Regions from separate parts of the Homo sapiens genome. Here region 2 is linked to region 1. The links are contacts of gene promoters, found by promoter capture Hi-C in blood cells and fetal thymus (Javierre and others, 2016). All regions are on one chromosome and are shown on one strand. The core of a region is centred on a gene start or on the middle of the fragment in contact, and the rest is flanking DNA. Distances in the headings are between cores, read along the strand shown. Region 1 overlaps LENG8 (leukocyte receptor cluster member 8). Region 2 holds the start of BRSK1 (BR serine/threonine kinase 1).

The links. The method cuts DNA at HindIII sites, captures the fragments that hold promoters and counts their contacts. A CHiCAGO score of 5 or more calls a contact.
Region 2: a contact is called between the fragment with the promoter of BRSK1 here and a fragment that was not itself captured in region 1, in 1 of 17 cell types (naive CD4 T cells). The highest score is 5.7, in naive CD4 T cells.

What each region holds. Positions count from the first base shown.
Region 1 is chr19:54,452,046-54,458,429 of GRCh38, reverse strand. It overlaps LENG8 (leukocyte receptor cluster member 8), which reads right to left. Exons shown (of 16, transcript NM_052925.4): 3 at 6,163-6,337; 4 at 5,678-5,779; 5 at 4,774-4,884; 6 at 3,748-4,000; 7 at 3,338-3,479; 8 at 2,863-3,066; 9 at 2,185-2,463; 10 at 1,965-2,105; 11 at 1,509-1,794; 12 at 582-683; 13 at 428-496; 14 at 198-327; 15 at 1-116. Among named protein-coding and RNA genes, the nearest start is that of LENG8, 6.0 kb to the right of the region's middle. The HindIII fragment of the contact is 6,641 bases long and covers 1-5,169 here.
Region 2 is chr19:55,279,528-55,285,840 of GRCh38, reverse strand. It overlaps BRSK1 (BR serine/threonine kinase 1), which reads right to left and starts at 1,844. Exons shown (of 19, transcript NM_032430.2): 1 at 1,263-1,844. The coding sequence starts at 1,398. HSPBP1 (HSPA (Hsp70) binding protein 1) reads left to right here and starts at 5,731. Exons shown (of 8, transcript NM_012267.5): 1 at 5,731-5,806; 2 at 6,139-6,313. The coding sequence starts at 6,233. RefSeq lists a silencer at 5,369-5,598 and an enhancer at 5,719-5,858. The HindIII fragment of the contact is 8,428 bases long and covers 1-2,550 here.

The DNA of each region.
Region 1 (6,384 bases), core at 600-3,099:
CCGGAAAAAGCGGTGGTAGTTGCCCAGGGCCCAGGCTGTCCTTAATGCCAAGGCGTGGGCCACGCAAGGATCTGCCTTCAGTTCTCGTGTGAGGTATGCCAGCTCCGTGGTGATGTCTAGCACCAAGACAAAGAGGGTGAAGTCAGCAGGGCTCAACCCTGGGTACCATGGCCTCTGTCCTGGGGACTGGGCCTCACCTCCCGAGTTCTTGGTGAAGATGTAGTAGAGGATTCGGTAGGCAGTAAACTCGCCCACATTGCCAGGCAAGTTCTCGGCGTACAGCGACTTGAGCTGCGTCTGGCACTGGTTAAACTCTTCATGGTCACCCTGGAAGGCAGAGGCACCGAGGGAGGAGAGCAGAGTGAGGGTGCTGAGGGCAGAACGGCAGCAGGAAAGGGGCTGGGGAGGCCCGCAGAGGCCAGCTCACCTTCTCCAAGGCGATCCGGGCATGGGTCTCGTACACCTCCACCGTGAACTCGGTGCGGATGCCCTGCACCTGGGGCAGCGGGGCGAGAACAAGAGTCACAAGGAGCGGGAGGCAGGACTGGCTGAGGCCAGGCCCCTCCCAGCGCGAGTCTCACCGTCAGATCCTGCCGGATCGACTTCATCTGCTCGCAGGCAAACGCGTAGTCCTGCTTCTCTTTCCAGTGGCACTTGACCATGCACAGCGACTTTTTCAAAACCTGAAAAAGGGAACTGAATTCACACTCGGAGTACAACTCAGGTAGCGTGGCCAACGGCTTCCACTTATTTGGTGGGAGAGTTGCAACATTAAAAAAAGAAAAAAAAGGCCAGGCGCAGTGGCTCACGCCTGTAATCCCAGCACTTTGGGAGGCCGAGGTGTGTGGATCATCTGAGGTCAGGAGTTTGAGACCAACCTGGCCAACATGGTGAAACCCCGTCTCTACTAAAAATACAAAAATCAGCCAGGCGTAGTGGCAGACGCCTGTAATCCCAGCCACTAGGGAGGCTGAGGCAGGAGAATCGCTTGAAGCCGGGGAGCGGAGGCTGCGGTGAGCCAAGATCACGCCATTGCACTCCAGCTTGGGCGACAGAGCCAGACTCTCTCCCAAAAAAAGAGAAAACAAACCCACAAGACATGGGTTAAGAGTGGCCACCTCCACACCCATTTCCCTATAAGCACATGGCTGTTCACAGGTTCTGCAGCAGAACAGTGACTACGCCAAACACTGGAAACACAGCCCCCCACGCCCCACAGCCCACGGGCCTGGGAGAAGGCTTTATGCTCCGTGTCACCTAAGCCAGGAACCACGGCCCAGAGGTCAAGCGATTCGCCGGCCAAGCTGCACACCCGCCACGCGGGGCTCCAGGGCAGCAGAGCGCCTTTGCGCTCCTCTCAGAATGCCGACCAGCCGAGGCGTCTCTGGCCGAGCTTCCCCTGCCATACCAGAGCCCCCGTGTGGCCTCTGCCACCCTCCCTGGGTTGGCTCCCCAAGTCCTGAGCCAGCACGGCCTCACAGAGCAGAACTGCCCTGCTGGGCACTTACTGCCACAGGGCGCACGGTGGACGGGTCGGGGGCACAGGTGAGGCGCAGGTAGTGCTTGGTGATGTCAGGGCAGGTGCCCACGATCTGCAGCTCCTGCCAGTCAGGGTCAGCCCCACTGCTCTCCAGGCTGCTCATCTGCAGCACCAGGGGCTCGAGGCGCAGGCGGCGGGAGTGTCCGTGCTGGAAGCGGGCTGCCCGCTTCTGCTTCTTCAGCTCTCGCTCCGGGTCCTCACACTCCAGCGCCGCCATCTTCTTTCGACTGCGCTTGGTGGGCGCCAGATCGTGCCTAGGAAGGGATGAGGGGCAGTGAGCGCGACAGGCGTCTCCAGCCCCCCTTCAGCCTCGCCCCTTTGGCAGCTGGCTGTCCACCTGTCCGGCCCTCCTCCTCCTTCTCCCATGGGTCCCCAGTACCCTCCTCCACCCTGGCCCGTGTGTCGAGCCCTCACACAGTCTCACCTCTTCCCACGCTGCGCCCTGCCTCGGCCCCGATCCATATGGGCCCCTCGACCGCCCCGGCCCTTAGGGGGCGGGTTCCTGCGGCCCACAGGGTGACACTCATTCCCTGAGTAGGAGCTGTCGGAGTCTGAGTGGGAGTCACTGCAGGAAGAAGCAGGAGGGTCAGGCCTGAAACGCCTCCCCCTCCCTCACACACAGCCCCAGCCGGGAGCCTCAGTACCTTCTGCGGAAGTGGCGCGTCGGGGACCTGGAGGAGGAGCGGGAGCGGGAGTCTGTGCTGGAAGAAGAGCTGTTGTCCTTCATGAAGACGTTGCGGTTGCCAAACTTGGTGAAGCTGTTGCCCCGGGCTCGACCGGCACCCCCAGCCCCGGGCGTCCCTCGCTGGGACGGGGCACCCCCGCCCCTTGTCGCCGAGCCTGCCCCTCTAGGAGGGTGAAGGCTGCTAGCGGCCTCCCACCGCTTCTTCTTAGGGCTCTCAGCCACAGGCTCCCGGGTCAGCCTGAGAATACAGCAGGGCAGGGCGTCACCAACCCCGCCAGACACTGGCAGGACAGCCGCCACCACCTCCCTCAAGGTACCGACCCGCCTCCGAAAGGAAAGGCACTTACCCCAGGCGGCTCAGCTACTACAGTGCAGAAATGAGACGCGAACCCAGGTTTTCCGTCTCCAGAGGGTGCGCTTAACCACTGAGCAATGCACGCCTCTCCAGCACCCATGGTCCCCACCCCACCCCACCGGCCTCCCTCCAACCAGGACTTCATCCCCCCAGGATCCAACTTTCCAGTTCATTTCTCTTTGGAGCTCCTGGTACCTGGGACCCGCAACTCTCCTACCTCCATACCCAGCCCATGCCTCTCACAGCACCACCCTCCCACCTATGTCCCCCACCCAGACTAACCCCGGCAAGGGCTCCCGGCTCCAGTCAATGGTATAGGCCGAGCCGTCCTGCAGCCGCGCCTGCAGCACCTCCTTGAGCAGCTTTTCCGTGCGGTCCTTGTCCTCCTCCGACTCACAGGCGGTGAAGCAGCGCTCCACATACTCTTTCATGTCCTGGGGCCAGTCATCCGGCTTCCCAGACAGGTTCCCCCGGGCAGAGGACCCGCTGCGGGAGGACAGATGAGGGGCTCAGCTGGAGACGATCCCAAACTCAAAAGACCATCCCCACCGCCACTCTGAGCTGACACAGCGGGACGCAGTCCCCAAGTTTTCCTTCTGTCTCCTTCAGTGCTCACAGCAACCCCCAAGAGAGGGTCCTTCTGCCCTTTTCAGAGGCGCACACTGAGGCTCAGGGTGGGCAGCTGGCCAGTGGGACTGGACCATAGACGCTGAGTGCAGAGTGTGGGGCTGCGACGGGGCAAGGGGGCAGACGTCACCTGTGGTTCTGAACTTTCTCAGGGTTGGGCTGGGGGCCAAAACCACTGTGCTGGCCCTCTGCGTTGGAGCCAAAGCTCTGGGTGGTAACAGCAAAGGGTCGCTTCTGGATGTTGAACTTGAGACCTCCAGTCCCAGGGGCGGCTGTGAGGGCAGCGAAAGCTATGGTTAGGCCCTTCCCCGGCACATCCAGGGGTCCCCAGGGGACGGGAGGAAGTGGAAATGCAGGGAGGAGCGCTCAGGTTCTAGAGGAGGGCTCCAGCACACATGTGCCTGGTCCAGAGCAGCCCCACCCCCAGCCTGGCGATCACAACACCCAGAAACAAGGAGCAGCACACACCACGGGCCTCACACCCAGGAGCTCTTATGAGGGCCCAACCGCTCGGACCTCCACGTAGCTCTGCCAACTTACGTTTCATGCGGTTCCACAGCTGTTGGCCCTTCTTGGGCTTGGCAGGTTCGGTGTAGGTGTGTGGCCCATAGGCCTGGCCCGTGGCGGGCCCCGCCTGGCTGTGCTGTGTGGCTGGAGCTGTCCCAGGCTGAGGGCCACTGTTCAGCGTGTGAGCCCCATGTGGGGGATTTGAGGGCTGAGGGGGCTGAGCCGACGGCAGCTGCTGAGGGGGAGCCTGGTAGGACATGCTCTCATCCATGCCGGGGACTGGGGGCTGCAGAAGGAAGCAGGCGCTGAGCACGGGAGGCAGATTCTGGGGCTGGCGAGTGGCACTCAGCCCTCGCTGTGAGGACGCAGTGGTCACAGCACTCAGCACTCAACCCTCCCGTGACCTTCCCAAATGTGAGTTCATTCGAGTCCTCAGTAACTCTGTGAGGTTAACATTTGTTAACAGCCCTTTTCACAGCTGACAAGGCTCCAGCTCAGAGACTAAGCGACTTCCCAGGGCCCTAAGCTATGAAGCGGCAGCTGGCAGCGTTTCAATGCTGGAGTAACAGCCACCGACAACACACCCACTCCAGCGCTACCATCTGAGCACAAGACACCCATGAGCACACACACTCATGGAGCCCAAGGATGAGGCTACCATCCTTCCCGCTTTCGAGAGCTGACCGAGATGCGTAATTACACCAGGGGTGGGACAGCTGGGATTCAAACCCAGGTCTACCTGCCTCCTGTGCACTAGCCCGGCCATTCCTCCAAGCTGCACATTCAATGCAAAACCCAGCCGGTGTGTGCACGCCTGTGGGTGACCATGCTAGGGAAAAAGATGAGATGTCTTTCAACATCTCAGCCCTGGCCTTGGCTCAGCCTTAAACCCACCCCAGGTTCAAACACTATGCTCTGTCCTCCTCATTTTCAGATCAGGAGTTGCTTGGAAGGAAAAAAGCAGCTTAAGGAGTACAAGCCATTCCTCATTGACAGCTCATTCAAAAATCTACACTTCCTCTGCTTGAGCAGGGTATGGGAGCTGGGCTAGGATGTTACCTGGTTCAGAGTCCCTTGGTGTTGGGGTGCGGATGGCTGCTGGGGTGTGGCTGAGCCATAGGAGCCGGCCATCCCATACTGGGAAGGGGAGCCATAGCTCTGGTACATGCTCTGCAAAGGCGCAGGGAGGGAGGGTTTAGTGGGAGGCCTACCCTTTCCGCTTCCCCAGCCTGCTCAGGAACTACACCAGCCATGACCCTCTACCAATCCCTCACCCCTTTCTCTCTTCACTATATTAATGCACCACATCCTCTCATATATTAGGAAAAGAAAAACCTCTATCAATCCCACATCTCACTTAGCTAGTTCTCGGAAGAATATAATCAACGATACTGAGTGCCAACTCTTCTAAGCACTACGACAGAACAAAAGGAAAACCCATGCTGTAATGAAGCTTGTGCTGGAATTACATGTCCGGCTGGAGACATCAACATGTAATACATCCAGCAATAAGGATCATGAAACAATAAGATGGCAAAGAAAGGGAGAGGGACAGGCTGCGAGGCAGGAATGCTACTTTCAATCAGTGTGTCAGGTAGAGGCTCTCTGAAGGCGGCATCTGAGCAGAGACCTCCAAGAGGCGGCAACACAGGGAGCACTGCAGCCAGGGCAAAGCGAGAGCGGGCCTGGCGGGTGCGGGCATCAAGGAGGTCTCTGCTTCGATGGCCATGGCAGAATGAGCATGAGGAGAGAAGGGACCAGAACCGGGTATGTAGGACCTTGTGGCTCATGGCGGGGACCTAGGAATTTACCTCCTGGGCAAGTTAGAGGGTTTCTGAGCAGTTATCACTGCGATCTCCAGTCCATCCACCACCCAGCCCCATCCCGGCAGACTCCACTTCACCTCGCCCCGACCCAGCAGACTCCACCTCGCCCTGCCCCGCCCCACTGGCTGGGCACTCACCATGGGATAGTAGTAGCTGTAGGGGTAGGCATAGTTGTACTGCTGGTACCACTGGTAGTACTGCTGCTGCTGCAAAGCTGAGGCTTCTGCCTGGGACACGTACTGTGGAAGCAGAGGCACATGTGCCGTCAGCAGCCCAAATCCACAGGCACACGGCCCCCAAAGGGCAAGCCTGTTTACTGGTGGCCAATTGCCAAGGGATGAAACTGGGTCCATGTATCTGCAAAGTGAGCCACTGTCTCTACCATGAGACTCACGCACGTTAGAGACCAGGGGCATGGGCATGGCCTCCCTCTTCAGAACCACATCACGCCCTAATTTCCTCAAGGAAACAGAACTTTTTCCCGTTCAGATTTAGATACCCTGGAACGTCTTTTCATGTTTCCCCTCAGAGCACCCCGTCTGAATGATACAACAGGACGCCAGACTGTGTCCCTCCCACAACCTCTGGCTCAGGGTACCCCAGCCCCATGAGGCCTTCTCACCTGTGCACTGGCCACAGGCCCATTGCTGCTGGACTTGGCAGAGCCGCCGGCAGCTCCTGACTTGCTGATGCTGGCCAGGGCCTGACGGGCCTTCTCCCACTCCGGGTTCTCGTGCATCGGCGTCTCCATGCCATTCTCTCGGCCTGCCCCAGCCACCATGCTGTACTGAGAAGACCTGCAGAGAGAGAGGACATCAAGTCACACCTGTTCTCCCCACTGTAC
Region 2 (6,313 bases), core at 595-3,094, 830 kb before region 1:
AGGGTCTCAGCTCCCAGTTACGGCCCAGTCGGTCCCCACTCCTGCCAGCTCTGGCCCTGAGCTTCATAGAGACTCTGGGCGTTCAGCTCCCATGTCACCTCCACCCACCATCCATCCGGCAGGAAGGAGGCCGCGGCCGGTGGCCAGCGTTCAGCAACAGCAGAGGATGAACGCCCTTTCCACAGCCGCTCCAGGAGACGCGCCTGCTGCAGCCCACCTTCCCACCCTCCATCCTGTTTCCCACTCTGAGCCAGCATGCCAGAGAAGGGGAGAATGTCTTAGGCCCCACGGCCCCTGTCACCCCAACCTGCTGCCTGGAGAACTGGAGGCCAGAGGACAGTGGGGAGGGAAGAGGTTTCCCAGGATGGATGCACTGCACCCCGGTCTGCAGCTGTACTGCAGCAAGAACCTCAGGTCCCAGCCCGGCCCCACTCTGCAGGCCGCCTCCATCCCCTCCCTGGCCCTGGAGCCCCTCCAGCCTCTGCCCCTATGGGGACTGGAGCACTGGGGCCCCAAACTCCCTGTCCCAACACTCAAGGTTCCGACCGCCCTCCTCCCTCAGACTCAGGAGTCCAGGCCCCCAGCCCCTCCTCCTTCAGACCCAGGAGTTCAGCACCCCTGCCCCTCCTCCCTCAGACCCAGGAGTCCAGACCCCAGACCCTCTTCCTTCATACTCAGGAGTCCAGGCCCCCAGGCCCTCCTCCCTCAGACCTGAAAGTCCAGGACCGCAGTCCCTCCTCCCTCAAACCCAAAAGTCCAGGACCCCAGTCCCCTCCTCCCTCAGACCCAGAAGTCCAGACCCCCAGCCCCTCCTCCCTCAGACCCTGGAGTCCAGGCCCCCAAGCCCTTCTCCTTCAGACCCAGGAGTGCAGGCCACCAGCCTCTCCTCCCTCAGACTCCGGAGTCCAAGCACAGCCCCTCCTCCCTGAAACCCAGGAGTCCAGACCCCCAGGCCCTCCTCCCTGAAACCCAGGAGTCCAGGCCCCCAGGCCCTCCTCCCTCAGACCTAGGAGTCCAGTGCCCAGCCCCTCCTCCCTCAGACCCAGGAGTCCAGGCCCCCAGCCCCTCTCCTCCAGGACCTGAGTCTGCGCCCCCCACCCCCTCCATCCAGGGACCCAGGAGTCTGAATCCCAAGTCCCTTCTCTATGAGGGGCCCAGGGGTCTGGGCAGCCAGCCCCTGCCATTTGAATACCCTGAGTCCCGCCTCTGCCGCCACCTCCACCCTGCCCCCCGCCCCAGGTGTCCCCTTCTGCTAGGCTCACCTGTCTGTCCTTTGCCCAGCGTCTTCTCCAGCCGATAGGGGCCCACATATTGGGCGTGCTGGGGTGGGTGGGGGTGGGGGTGGGGGAGGTGGTAGGCGGGAGAGCCCCCACCTCCCTCCTTGGCCCCGGACGACATGGTGCCCTTGGTCCCGGCCCGACCGGTCCCCCGGCCGCCCCCCCTGCGGCCGTCGCCCCGTCTCTCCGGTGGGGGCCGGCGACCGCTCCGTCCCGGCCCCCCCGGCTGCCCCCCACCTCTCCGGGGGTCCCCAGGGGGCTGGGCTGGCCCCCCCCAGTCGGCGGGCCGCGGAGCTGGGGGAGGGGGGGCTGGCCCGGGGGGGTCAGGCCCCGGGAGTCAGCATGGCCCAGGGGGGCTGCGGGGCCCCCCCTCCCCAGCCCGTTTCTGGCCGGCCCCCCGCTTCCTGCGCCTCCCCCCGCCGGGGGGGTCTGAGGTGCGGGCCGGCGGATGCTGCAGGCCGAGGTCCCCCCCGCCCCCCCACGCGCCCTCTCTCCTCCGCCTCCTCCTCCTCTCCGCCTCCCCCCGCCACCTCGTCCTTTCTCTCCGGCACGCTGACATCACCATCCGGGGACTCCGGGCCCTTCCCCAAAGTTAACCCTTTCGGAGGGGGGAGGGGGAGCGAGGGGGGGCAGGGGGCGGGCCTCCAGCTGGAGGGATGGAGAGGAGGTGGGAGGATGCAGGAGAGAGGATGGAGGGAAGGATGGAGAGAGAGAGAGAGGACCCAACAGATGGGGCAGAGATGGAGATACACAAAGAGAGATGCTGGCTGACACAGAGACGGGAGACAGGCAGAGACGCCAGAGGGATGGAGACCACCAGAGACAGGCTGAGGCAGAGAGGGAGGAAGGGCAGAGATGGACAGGGACAGAAGAGAAGGAAGGAATGGCAAGCCGGGAAAACAGACAGGGAGAGGGAGAGAAAGCTGCTGGAAGCCGACAGAGGGATGGAGAGAGTCAGAGATTCAGAGAGACAGAGAGAGGAAGACCAACCAGAGAGGTGGGGGAGAGGGGGCGCAGATGGAGCTGTAGAGAGGGCCGGGGGTACACACAGGTGGAGGGACACGTGCTGGGGAGAGGTGGGGACATATGGAGGGAGACAGAGACAGAGAGGGGAAAGAATTCTTGGAGTTGCTGACCCAAAATTCATGTCTGTTTCCCCAGCCCCCTAAGGCCACCCATTCAGGGTAAGGGTAAGTCTGTGTCCCCACCAATGTCAAGGCCCCATATCTACCCACAGCCCAGAGTGATTTTGGATTCTCTTTACAGAGAAGCTTCCAGAACCCCCTCAGTTTCCCTGTGTTATGTTTTTAGACCCCCATATATTCTCTGTGCTCGTCATAGGGTCCTTTATATCTTCATGTGGACCCCAGTACAGCCCATACATCCCCACTGTAGCAGGTCCACAAGCATGTGCTCTGCCTGTGAGTAACCCGCCTGCCCCCATTAGCTTTCCGCATAAACCATAGATCCCTCTATGTCATGTACCCGCAAGTGTTAGACACCCATTTAATTCTCAAGTCCCCTGTAAAGCACACCCAGGGCTGGGCAAGGTGGCTCATGCCTGTAATCCCAATACTTTGGGAGACAGAGGTGGGAAGATCAGCCTGGGCAACACAGTGAGACCCCATCCCTACAAAAATTTTTTTAAAAATTAGCCGGGCATGGTGGCATGTGCCTGTAGTCCCAGCTACTTGGGAGGCTGAGGCTTGAGTCAGTGAGTTCTAGGCTGCAGTGAGCTACGTTTGCACCACTGCACTCCAGCCTGAGCAACAGAGTGAGGCCCTGTCTCTAACAAAAATAAAATAAAATAAAGTGCACACAGGAGCCTATTGGCTCCTGTGAGATTTCCCAGTCCCCCATTCAACACCTTGAGTCCACACATCTTTAATGAGTGCCAAATCTCAGCCAGGCACTGTTCCTGTTGGTAAGAACGTGGCAGTGACCTAAATCAGCAAAAAGGCCTGTCCTGTGGAGCTTCCATGCTGGTGGATGAAACAGATGATCAGCAAGGTCAATAGGCAAAATGTATGGTGTGTTAGATAATCATGTCCGTGCTGAGGAGGTGACTACAGCAGGGAAGGGGGTTAAGAGGGGCCTGTTGAGCAGGGTACAATTTTAGGCGTCCGGCTTTTTTTGTATTTTTAGTAGAGATGGAGTTTCACCCTGTTAGCCAGGCTGGTTCTGTAGCCTTTTTTTTTTTTTTTTTTTTTTTTTTTTTTTTTTTTTGAGACGGAATCTTGCTCTGTCTCCCAGGCTGGAGTGCAGTGGCACAATCTCAGCTCACTACAACCTCCACATCCTGGGTTCAAGCGATTCTCCTGCCTCAGCCTCCCGAGTAGCTGGGATTATAGGCACCCGCCACCATGCCTGGCTAATTTTTGTATTTTTAGTAGAGATGGGGTTTCACCATGTTGGTCAGGCTGGTCTCAAACTCCTGACCTTGTGATTTGCCCACCTCAGCTTCCCAAAGTGCTGGGATTACAGGCGTGAGCTACCACACCTGGCCTGGTTCTGTAACTATTGAGTCCCTTTTTGCTCTCAAATGTCTTGCTATAGATGAAAAATTATATGATCACCCTCTTTTTTTTGTTTTGTTTTGTTTTTTGAGACAGGGTCTTCCCCCTGTTGCCTAGGCTGGGGTGCAGTAGGGCAGTCATAGTTCCCTGCAGCCTCGACCTCCTGGGCTCAAGTGATCCTCCTGCCTCAGCCTCCTGCCTAGCTGTGATATAAGCAGATGCCATCACACATGGCTAATTCTTGTATTTTTTTGTAGGGCTGGGGACACACTATGTTGCCCAGGCTGGTCTCGAGCTCTTGGGTTCAAGTGATCCTCCCACCTTGGCCTCCCAAAGTACTGAGATTATAGACCTGAGCCACTGCCCCCGGCCATGTATTATAAACTGATAGACTTGTACATAGATGTCCGTGTCCTAATTCCCAGGATCTGTGCATAAGTTACCTTGCATGGCTGAAGGGACTTTGCCCATGTGACTGAGATAGGGAGATTATCCCAGTTATTTGGGTGAGCTCGATGGAATCACAAGAGTATTTGTGAGAAGGAGGCAGGAGGAGCAGTCAGTGATGGAGATGGGAAGGTGGAAGCAGAACTTGGGGTGATGGGGCCACCTGTCAAAGAAAGAGTGTGGCCTCTAGAAGCTGGAAAAGGCAAGAAAAACATTCTCCCCGAGAGCCTCCAGAAGTGATGCAATCCTGCTGACAGTTTGATTTCAGCCCCGTGAAACCCATTTTGGATTTCTGCCCTCCATAACTGCAAGATAATAAATGTGTGCTGTTTTAAGCCACCACATTCTTAGTAATTTGTTAACAGCAGCAATAGGAAACTAATATAATAGCACATCCACAGGCCCAGATGCATCTCACAGCACAGTGCTAGAAACACCACACACACACACACACACACACACACACACACATACACACACAACCTATCTGTTTGGTCTTCCTGTTTCTGCCCAAAATATCCCCCTGCACAACCACGCCCAGCAGGTGATTGATACGTTTGTGACTGTGTGCCCGTTTTGCGTTGAGCACAACCTTTTCCTGGAGGAAAACGCCTCCTATCCAGGATCAACACGGGAGTTTCTTTAAGCCCAGCCCAGGGCCAACACCTCTGCAGATCGGCCCGCACCAGCACGTGCCCAGGCCTAAACCCCACTTCTGGAGCACAGAGGCCTCGGGCCTCCCCACCAAGCTGGCTCCTCTGGCGCTCTGAATCTTGCTGGGCTCTGGGGCACTTTGCTTTCCGGCTCTAGGCCTCAAGAATCCTCTCCTCTCCACCTGGCAGGACATGGGGAAGAGTCCATGAGGGAGAGGCTGGGTGATGAGAGGGATCCACGCCGCAGCTCCACTTGACAGATGGAGAAACTGAGGCCGAGAGAGGGGTTGCGGGGGGCATAAGGCTCACAGGCCAGCCATTACGGTTGCGACCCCAGGGCTCCTGTAGATGGGGTTGGTGGCCCCGGTGGAGGCGAAAGTCAGATTAGTTGGGGCGAGGTCCCAAACCTTCTAAGGATGACTGACAGCAATGAGTGGGAGGGGCCTGTAAAGGGGCCGGGGCCCAACTGGGAGAGTCTGAAAGGCCTAGAGCAGGGGCGGGAATCGTAGGGTGGGCGGGGTCAGACCTGGGGGCGGGGCACACGTTAGAAGAGGGGTGGAGCTTGCAAAAGTATCGGGGGCGGGACTCGCTGAGGTGCGAAAACTGGGCCAGGGGCAGGGCTTTGACCAGCTACTTGAGCGTGAAGGGGCGGCGCCCGCACGAAGGGGCGTCCCAGCTTGGAGGCGGGGCCCGGATGGGAGGGGCGGGGCCGAGTGCAGTATCCCGCCAGGTGAGAAGGGGATAAGAGTCGGGCAAGCAGCTTCAGCCGCAACCACGGCACGAAGTTGGGTGGGTACGCCTGGCACTTCCGGGTGAAACCGTGCGTATTTCCGGTTAAGATGGCGGCGCCCAGCAGAGTCAGGTGCGGACGACTTTGTCTGTAGGAGCAGCGGCGGCTTGAGGACCCGGGGAGGTGAGATCCGCCTTATTCCGGCGCCCCTCTTCGGAGAGGAGGGAGAAGACTTGTTGCTAAGGAGACCAAAGGGCGGGCTTGTTGCTACGGAGGCGGAGCAGTGAGGTTGCTAAGAGACGGGACGCACGCAGTGGAGATGGGGAAGGGGGGTTGTTGCCAGGGAGAGTGGGTGGGGCCTGTTGCTAGGGAGAAAGGAGAGGCTTATGACTTTGGGGAAGGGTCCTGTGGGTATGAAGGAAGGAAAAGGGGCTGTGGTTAAGTGGGCTGGGGGCAGAGTGGTTTGGGGTCATGGGGGGTCGCCGAGCTCCCCTGAAACGCCGCCTTCTCAGCAGACCCTCAAGAATCGACCCATCAGGACGCCAGAGCTGCTTCAGCGGTGACCACCTTCTCCCTCTAACACATTCTTCCCTTCTTCACAAACGGCCCATGTCAGACGAAGGCTCAAGGGGGAGCCGCCTGCCCCTGGCGCTGCCCCCGGCCTCCCAGGGTTGCTCTTCAGGGGGCGGC